Regions from separate parts of the Homo sapiens genome. Here region 2 is linked to region 1. Evidence: promoter capture Hi-C in human tissues and cell types (Jung and others, 2019). All regions are on one chromosome and are shown on one strand. Each heading gives the region's core, a stretch centred on a gene start or on the middle of the fragment in contact. The rest is flanking DNA. Distances are from core to core; before and after follow the strand shown.

Evidence for each region. Contacts are between HindIII fragments. The study calls those that stand out against the background at their distance.
Region 2: a fragment that was not itself captured here is called in contact with the fragment with the promoter of NAV3 in region 1 in 1 of the 25 tissues and cell types used here (heart left ventricle).

The regions. Positions count from the first base shown.
Region 1 is chr12:77,828,072-77,832,603 of GRCh38, forward strand. It overlaps NAV3 (neuron navigator 3), which reads left to right and starts at 2,823. Exons shown (of 40, transcript NM_001024383.2): 1 at 2,823-3,633. The coding sequence starts at 3,391. The HindIII fragment of the contact is 9,569 bases long and covers 1-4,532 here.
Region 2 is chr12:77,055,188-77,059,730 of GRCh38, forward strand. E2F7 (E2F transcription factor 7) reads right to left here. Exons shown (of 13, transcript NM_203394.3): 3 at 668-943. Among named protein-coding and RNA genes, the nearest start is that of E2F7, 8.1 kb to the right of the region's middle. The HindIII fragment of the contact is 7,431 bases long and covers 1-4,543 here.

The DNA.
Region 1 (4,532 bases), core at 1,573-4,072:
AATTTAGTTGGCATTGTGAATGGTATTAAGAGATGGAGACATTAAAAGGTGAGTAGGCCATGAGAACACTAACTTCATACATGGATTAATGTTATTGTGGAAGTGGGATTATCATGAGAGTATAATCCGTTATAAAAGCGAGCTTGGCCCTTTCTGTCTCTCTTATATGAGTGCTCTCTTGCTCTTCTGCCTTCCACCATGGGTAGATGCAGCAAGAAGACCCTCACCACATATGGGCCCCTCACTCTTATGCTTCCCAGCCTCCAGAACTGTAAGAAGCAAATCTGTTGTTATTTATAAATTACCCAGTTTTAGATATTCTGTTATAGTAGCACAAATGGACTAACACAGTGGGTTCGAGATGAATACAATCATCTATATTTTAGTAAGCACTCAGGTCACCATCACATCTGGTTTGTTGAACTCAGTTTGTAAAACCTCATTTTGAACTTCATCTACAAGGTATCAGTGACCGTAAGCTAATTTTTTACTTTCTCGGTGCCTTTGTCTCCTAGGTCTCAAAACGGTGTGGTTCTTTTAAGATAAATTGAGATGACAACTCCTGGCACAAAGCACATTTTTTATAGTAAGTTAGTTTGGTTTTGTTGCTTTTGGTGGTAGATATTACTGCAAAAAATTAGTTGACAGTGGCTACTAATACCATCTTATATTTCAGTCAGAGTGAAAGATATTGCCTAATATGCAAAAGGTATTTCAAAGTGAAAAGACATCTTATTGAATGTGAATCCTTTTTTTTCAATCTAATTGTTCCAGGAATTACGATACATTCTCCTCCAATGCATGTTTCCAAAATACCAATGAGCTCATTTGTAATTGGCAAACAGGAATTTTGTACTAGTATAATGCAGAAGTTGTGTAGCTTTATATACAATTTATTCTAGGCAAAGGGAAGCAGAATAGTCAGCGTAGAATTATAACCTTGGGTGGGCAAAGAAGCCCTCAGTTTGAATGTTGTATAGTCAGCAGGAGCCCTTTTGGCTCAGTTTTAAGAAAACTAAAAACAAAAACAAAAATGAATGCCTGCATCTGGGGCTTCCTCTTCAAAGGGGCATGCCCCTGGCCTTGTGCAGCTCTTAAATATTTGCAGTTGCCCTGACCCTGTACCCATTTCAATGGCAAGCCTACTGGCTTGGAGTTTGCCTTCCAACCGGATTTCTTCCACCAATTCTGGTTAAAGTGTTGCCAGCATTTATACCCAATTATTTTTTTATGTAATTCTGAGTCACTTCCTTGAGTGGTCCAAATTATTTTCTGAGGTGCCAATATTATTTTTGCTAGCAATATACTCCCAAAGTTGCATATGTTTTGAGTGAACTTCCTAGAATCAATTTTTCCCACAAGTTCTATTATTTAGGTGCTGTTTTGTTTTGCATTGTGAGGATTACAAGTTGCATATGTCTTATTATGAACTAAACCTCATTTTACGAACATGAACCTCTCCAACTCTGTATTACCTTATAGTTTCTGAAAGTTATAATGTGTTGAATGGTTTGCAAATTGCAAAATAACTTACTTCCTCAGAGAGATTATTTCATTTCTTTGATACCACTAGTGTTGTATTTGTTTTGTATTACCCCGCTGTGTAAAGCCCACTTGGGTTACTATTTTTAAAGCCTGCAAGACTTCTAACTTACATTTCCTGTCTTCTATGCTGCATCAGCAGAACATATACTTTTAGTTATTGGCTCTTTCATCTATAAATTACTGCTTCTTAGATAAAAGTACGTAGTGATTTAAAGACCTGGAAACAGTAGGCCAAAGATGACCATTTCTTCACTAAAGAAAGACATTTTCTATAAAAAATGGTTACGATTTAATAATTTCCATGATTCATTGTGTCTATACTAAGTGTCCACCACTCATTTTTCTAAGACCTTTGGTTGCATTATTACTAATTTTTATATTTGGTGTATATAATTGCTCTCTGTATCCATTTTCTGAGTGCAATCAGTTTCAGAACAATAATGCATGGTACATTAGATGTTTTCTTAAAAGTTTACCCCTTGTTTATTTAAAGTTCCTGACATGCTTTAACCAGAAATAGAACATGCTATGATTATATTAAAATAATTCTATGGATGGAAGCATCATCATTCATTCTCACTGAGTATCTGTTTGGACAGTTTTTAGAAGCTTGGGATTTTAAGTTGGACGTCATAAGCTTGAATAACAGTGTTATTTTCAACCATTTTAAAAGACAGGTTTACAAACTAAAATCATACATTCTTTCCCCCTTTCTAGCTTCATCATTTTAGTCAATTTTTTCAGTGTCTCCAAGTCATAGCTGTTCTTTCTATAAAGTGAAGAAAATAAATATGCCTATACTTTGAGTCATTCCAATGATTAAATGTGATAATGCATAAAATGCTTAGCTCCATAACTGCTTTGTAATACATTCCACATAAGTGTTAGCTTTGAATGTTTTTATAATCATGACTTATTAAATTTGGGAACAATGATTACTACATATTTAGTGCCCTGCTTCCTGTGTTTACTCTATTTTCATAACCTAGGCAGCTATGGTCCGATGAATGATTTAACTGCTTTAGCTAGTTGCACTATTGCATGATTTTAGCCTGATTTCATGGGATGCAACAGAATGAACATCGTGGCTCATGGCTGTCAGTAGTGAAAAATAGCTGGAAATCAGACAAACAACTTTATTGCTGAGATTGTTTCCGGGCTAAAAGTTCTTCCAACAGCTGTTTGTTTTGGCCATTAACATGTCCATTCTTTTTATTTTTTCTGAGCTGGGGGAAATACAATTTTCTTTAAAAAGAGAATGCAGGCTGGCTATTTCTGAAATCAGGAAGAACCCCTGTCCTTCCACTGTTGTGGTCTTTTGGCTGCTCTGACAGTTGGACTGAAGGGCTTTTCCTTTTGATTTTTTCCTCTTTTTCAATCTCAAAGTTCAGACTCAGACTGCTTTAGTGAGAAAAAAAAATAAGCAAAACTAAGAGCTCTTTAATCCTAAGAAGGAGCTTTGTAGCAGTTACCTTGAAGAAGAGTTTACTCCCCAAAGGAGTATTTAGTATTACTTAGATACTGAGTCACTGAACAGAGAGAGAGAGAGAGACAGAGAGAGAGAGAGAGAGAGAGAGACAGAGAGAGAGAGAGAGAGAGAGAAAGAGAGAGAGAGAGAGAATGAGAATGAATATGAATCCCAGCCAGCAAGAAAGAAAAGATACTTAACTAAAGATGCAGGGAAGTTTTGCCTCTTCCTGAAAATTATATTATTAGCTTTTTAAAAATCAGGATGACTGCTAGTTTTGTTTAAAGTATTTGTTCTGGAAATACTAAAGTTGGAGTCTACCAGACTGAGGTTAGAAGCATTTTCTTTGGCAGCAAGAAGATAATTTTATAGAAGCCATGCCTGTTCTTGGGGTTGCCTCAAAACTGAGGCAGCCAGCTGTTGGGTCAAAGCCTGTGCATACTGCTCTTCCGATACCAAATCTTGGCACTACTGGGTCACAGCACTGTTCTTCAAGACCTTTGGAACTTACTGAAACAGAGAGCTCCATGCTTTCTTGTCAGCTTGCGTTAAAATCAACCTGTGAATTTGGAGAGAAGAAACCCCTCCAAGGAAAAGCCAAGGAGAAAGAAGACAGCAAGGTTAGTTGCTGAAGTTACCTGCAGACTTGTGTAGCTAAAATGCACATTTCTCTTTAAGTGCACTATAAAACATGTTATGAAATGGGGAGTAGTAGAGGAATACCAGTGTAAGGATGTAAGTAGTTATAATGGCTGAAAAGCTGAATATTTAGCTTATGTAAACACTGTATTCTTAGTTTAGAGTTGTAAAAGTCATGATCAAAATTTTCTGAATATGCATCTATTGTAATCATTTAATACTACTTATTGATGAATGCCTAGTTAGTTCTAGATATTGCTCTATTACTAATAATCATAATCAGTCACAAATGTGAGAAAAAGAGAACCTATTGTCATCCATACTGCAATGTATGAAAATAGGTACTTTCAAAAAGACATTTATTTGTAATAATTCATATAGACACCATCACTTTTCTCTAAATGTCATTTGCATTTCAAAGAATTTCTGCTTGAAAATTTGTATCATAGGCTGCTTAATTCATTGCAGTATGAAGGAAAATGACATACTATTTTCCTTGATACTGCACATTTATATGGACTTTCCCTTGTAAACTGAAACGCTACTCTTTTACTTATTACTGACATCTTTTTCAGTCATTTAATTTATGATATTTTGTGAGTAGTTGCTCATAGCCCTTGGTTTCTAAAGCATACTACAACCGTTTTCTCCAGTCACGCATGCTAGAATGGCACTGAAGCTGCTGAACTTCATGCGGATTCATTTGTACCTTGATAAGCGTCACTTTTGTTTTGTGCATTTTTACTTTTATTGGTACATATTAGGTGTATATATTTATGGGTACATATTGGTGTATATATTTATGTGGTTCATGAGAGATTCTGATACAGGCATACAATGTGTAATAATCATATCAGGGTAAATGGAGTATCTGTTGCCT
Region 2 (4,543 bases), core at 1,401-3,900, 770 kb before region 1:
TTGTAATTCGAGACATCTTTTTTCTCTCTTCCCAATTTCTTCATTTTGGCAATTTTTATAGCTTGAAAAATCCGCCAAAAAGAGAAAAATGGTTAAGAATACTGAAATCTGCAAAACTTTTCTTAGGAAGTCTGAGAAAAAGCTTGATGGGAAGTGAAAATAATTACCTTTTTTTTTTTTTTTAACGAAGTATAGACATGCTGCTTATTCAACAGCACTGGTTCCCCACAGAACAGGTAATTTAAAGATGGCTTAACTTCAATAAAGCCCCAAACTAACCAACTGAACATATATAAGAATAATGGAATTTCCTAAATCAAAAATATTTACATTAACATTATCCCTAAAATCTGGGCAAAATTAAAATTCACAGCAGCATTTAAAGAATCCAAATTCCTTCATTAAATAAAAATGATTAAATATCATTACTTTAAAATAATTTATCATTTTTAAATGAGCCCTGGTCCAGGGAGTATCATACAGAAAAGAAAGCATTCATTATGAAAAATAAGATAGAATGAGAATTCTACTACAAATCAAAAGATATTCAGTTTGCCACTGCTTTTGGCTCAATAGGAGCTGAAAAGTTGACAGTTCTATGATTTTTTAATAATCAAGTAAAATTGTTTAAGTTCTAAAAAATCCCTGAGGAGCACAGTCTGTTTACCTGTAGAGAATCTGTAAATGCATCGTCCTTGTTTTCAATGGGTCGGAATAGTCCCTTTTTCTTCTCCCGGTCCCTTATATCTGGGCTGGCAGCACTAATGAGCATCTTCAGGTTAGCTGTGGGTGTCCATGGTTCCGCTTGCTGTCTGTCAACAAACTTAACTGGAGTAATGGGATTTCTTTCTGGAGTAAATTTTTTTTGCTTCGATAAATCAATTGGTTCATTTTTTATTGGAGTCTTCGGGGCCATCCTTGATCGATCAACAAATATATTTTCCTATTTTAAAAAAGAAACTTTTAGCAAGAATGAGAAAGGGCAGGTATCAGCTAAGAGTATACTTTGTTCCCACCATTCACTAAGACTTGAAAATACAAATAGGACCATATGTTTAGGGCTGAAAAGTATCAGGATAGGACTAACGAAAAGTAGTCATGGGAATAGAAGAGTGGCTCCAATGAGAAGTAGATTATACTCTGCTACTCCTTTTACACCTATCTTTCATGGTATCTCTGTAAAAGAAATCACAACGTATCTGTTACTGTTGCATGTTTATAACAGATGAGGACTATGAGGGCCAATGTGGGTTGAGTCCATATTGTTTCTAAGTGTCACCTTTTTTAAAACACTACTTACAAGTTTGCATTGACTAGTGAAGAGCAACAATGCTTCTGTAGTTCAATGTGCACCAGTGCTAATACAGCACTTAGTAGCAGGACCAGTTAATGGAAGAGCATCCAACAAAATCCCACATTTTAAGCCAACCTAGAGAGCTCTCTAACGTCATTCTCCAGAGCAGTGCATCTCAAACTACCCATGGTAAAGGACTCGTTTTTTTAGATTTCCAAACTCCTGCAAACTGATATGTGACCTTACTTCACAGGACTAATGTGCAACACAACTCCCACCAGATGTGATTTGCCATTTGAGTTTGTCACTCAAACTGACCCACAGCTTCTTCAACAAGAAGAGACCACTAATCATAAGCTTAGATATGGTGGCAATACTGAATTGCTACTGAGGTTTATTTTTCTTACTTTTTTTTTTTTTTTAAAAGATAGGGTCTCACTCTGTTGCCCAGCCTGAGTACAGTGGTGTGATCATAATTCACTATAGCCTCAAACTCCTGGGCACGTGCAATCTTCTCGCCTTAGCCTCCCAAGTAGCTGGGACCACAGACATGCACCACTACACCCAAATACTTATATTTTATTTTTTGGAGATAGGGTCTCACTCTGTAACCCAGGCTGGAGGGCAGTGGCATGATCACAGCTAACTGCAGCCTCAAACTCCTGGGTTCAAGTGATCTTCCCACCTCAGCCTCCCAAAGTGCTGGGATTTCCAGTGGTGTGCATACTACAGTGGTGTGCACACCACTGCACCCAGCTAATTTTTAAAATTTTGTGTGGAGACGGGGTCTTGCCATGTTGCCCAGGCTGGTCTTGAACTTCTGGCTTCAAGTGATTCTCCTGCCTCAGCCTCCCAAAGTGCTAGAATTACAGGCATGAGACACCAGGCCTGGCCTTTTTTAATTTTTTGTAGAGATCGGGGTCTCACTATGTTACCAAGGTTCATCTCAAACTCCTGGCTTCAAGTAATCATCCCATCTTGGCCTCTCAAAGTGCTAGGATTACAGGCATGAGCCACCACATCTAGACTACTGAGGTTTTTAAGTGCTTAACTCTCAAGTTCCGTTCTTAATTTTTTGCACCCTGGTGATAGTTTGTGGAATACCATCTGCCTCCAGACCACCCGTTGATGTAGACTGTCTTAAATAATTCTAAGAAAAGACTAACGATGGGCCCATTGTAAAAAAGGACTAAGTATATAGAATCCACCTTTGGAACTAACAAGTAATTAAAACGTATCTTTCCCCTAAAAAAGTTTCAAAAATTCAATATGAGAATTCGATAATTCAATATTCAAAAACAGAAAGATTCTGCTCTTTCTGTAGTATTCCTTTCCAGTCAATAGTGTGTCATATAATTACAAAGGTAGATGAGTTCTCAGTCACTCCTTCCCTGTACATTCTGTATAGCTACTGAATGCTTGGGTTTTGGTTGAGCAGGGGGTTACAGTAAGTGTTTTCCTATAAATGAGCAACGTGTGAAGAGGTAAAATATTGGGAGAAACTGGAGTTTGTGTAGGCAAGGCAACTCTTGCTCCTTGGATCAGCAGAAGCTGCATGCTAGCCATGGCAACATTCGGTCCTAGTATAAGAGGAAGGAGAGGAGTCAGTGGAAGTGGCGATTTCTCATACTACAGTAAGTACTCGGCCCAGAATGCTGCATCTACCCACCTCTTTTAACAAGTCCCTGTTAGTGTGCTATTCTGATAAAGGCTTCTACAGGTGAACTCTCAAGGGAAATTACTGATTACTATGTGCCACGCTCTGTTTCATGTATTTTGCATGTATTGACTCCTCATCCAATCCTGTGACATAGGCACTAATATTTTTCCGTTGTATAGATGAAGAAACTGAGGCACAGAGAAGTCAAATAACTTGGCTGAGGTCACCTATGACCTCATTCAGTGTAAAATCATCGGTATGCAAGAAACAGCTGAAGGCAGAACTTTCTGAAATTCTACACTTAAAAATGAGCCTGTGTCCTGGGCACAAACTGGGAGGAAGTTATCTTTTCCACAGCTCCAACCAAAGGTACCCAGCAGGCCACTGATCCCCACTAGTACCTAGCGAGAGGCAGCATGGGGAAATAGTTATATACACAGGATGTAGGGCCAGTTAACCTACCCCTGCTGCTTATCAGCAGGGGTGAGTGTGGCAAGTTCCTGTACCTCACTATACTTTATTTCTCTCAACCGAAAATGAAGTTCATAAAAATACCAATCTCAAGGGTTATGAGATTAGTTCCTGGCATATAGTGAGCGCTCGATAAAACTTAGCTATTATCTTTTCCCTCTTTTCTATTCTTTATTACCATTCACTCTGGCATTTCGAGCTAAATATACTACAGCACATCATATTGCTATTTAACTTCCAGGATGTGTGTCTTGTCTCAGTAACAAGACTGTGCCCTTGAAAAGGTCAAGAAGCAAGTTCCACATGTCTTGTTCATCGCAATTTTTGGCACAATGCGTTGCCCACTGCAGATACTCAAAGAACACTGTGCTTTGATGAGTTATTCCAAAAGGTATCCTCATGGTGGAGGGTGTGGTCCAGGCATGCTGGGTGGACAGAGATTTACATGCCTTCTCCATTGCTTCCAAAAGAGTTACTTTAGCGAGGGAGCAACTGAGAATGGATTATTTCTTCATATATTTTGATATATTTTCACTGTAGTTTACTGAATACTTAAAGTAGGAGGGGAGCTAGGTCATGTGGTAGGTTATGATTGTATTACACCTCTACATCAAGAAAAAAAAATGCCAACCCAATTGTTTTCTAAGGTGTCAGGTGGACAGAAAGTCAACTGCAATCTAGTCACACCTTGCTCCATCTGTCTGTCCTGCTATGCTGACAGCATATACGGCTGTGGAAAGGGCACTGCAATGGAAACCTGATTTGTGTCCCAGCTGTTTGTATCTTTTTGATCCTGGATAACTGTTCATTCTGTCTGGGCCCAGATTTCCGTAGGTATAAAATGAGGAATTTAGATGAAAGTATCTATCTCCAAGGTTTTCTAGCAAGGCTGCTTAGCTGTGGAGTGGATGCTGGGATGTACCCTGATCTCTTCAGACATGACTCATTCCCCAGCTGCTAGAAGTAATGCCAACAGTCATCCCATAACTGGACTGCTTTGGCTGAAGACAGCTGACTTGTCCAAGATCACACCACTTCCTGGGAAGCCTCTCCTGTACTCATTGGCTGGTAGAAGTAGCACAGACATATAAAAGCCAGGACTCTGGGAGGCCAAGGCA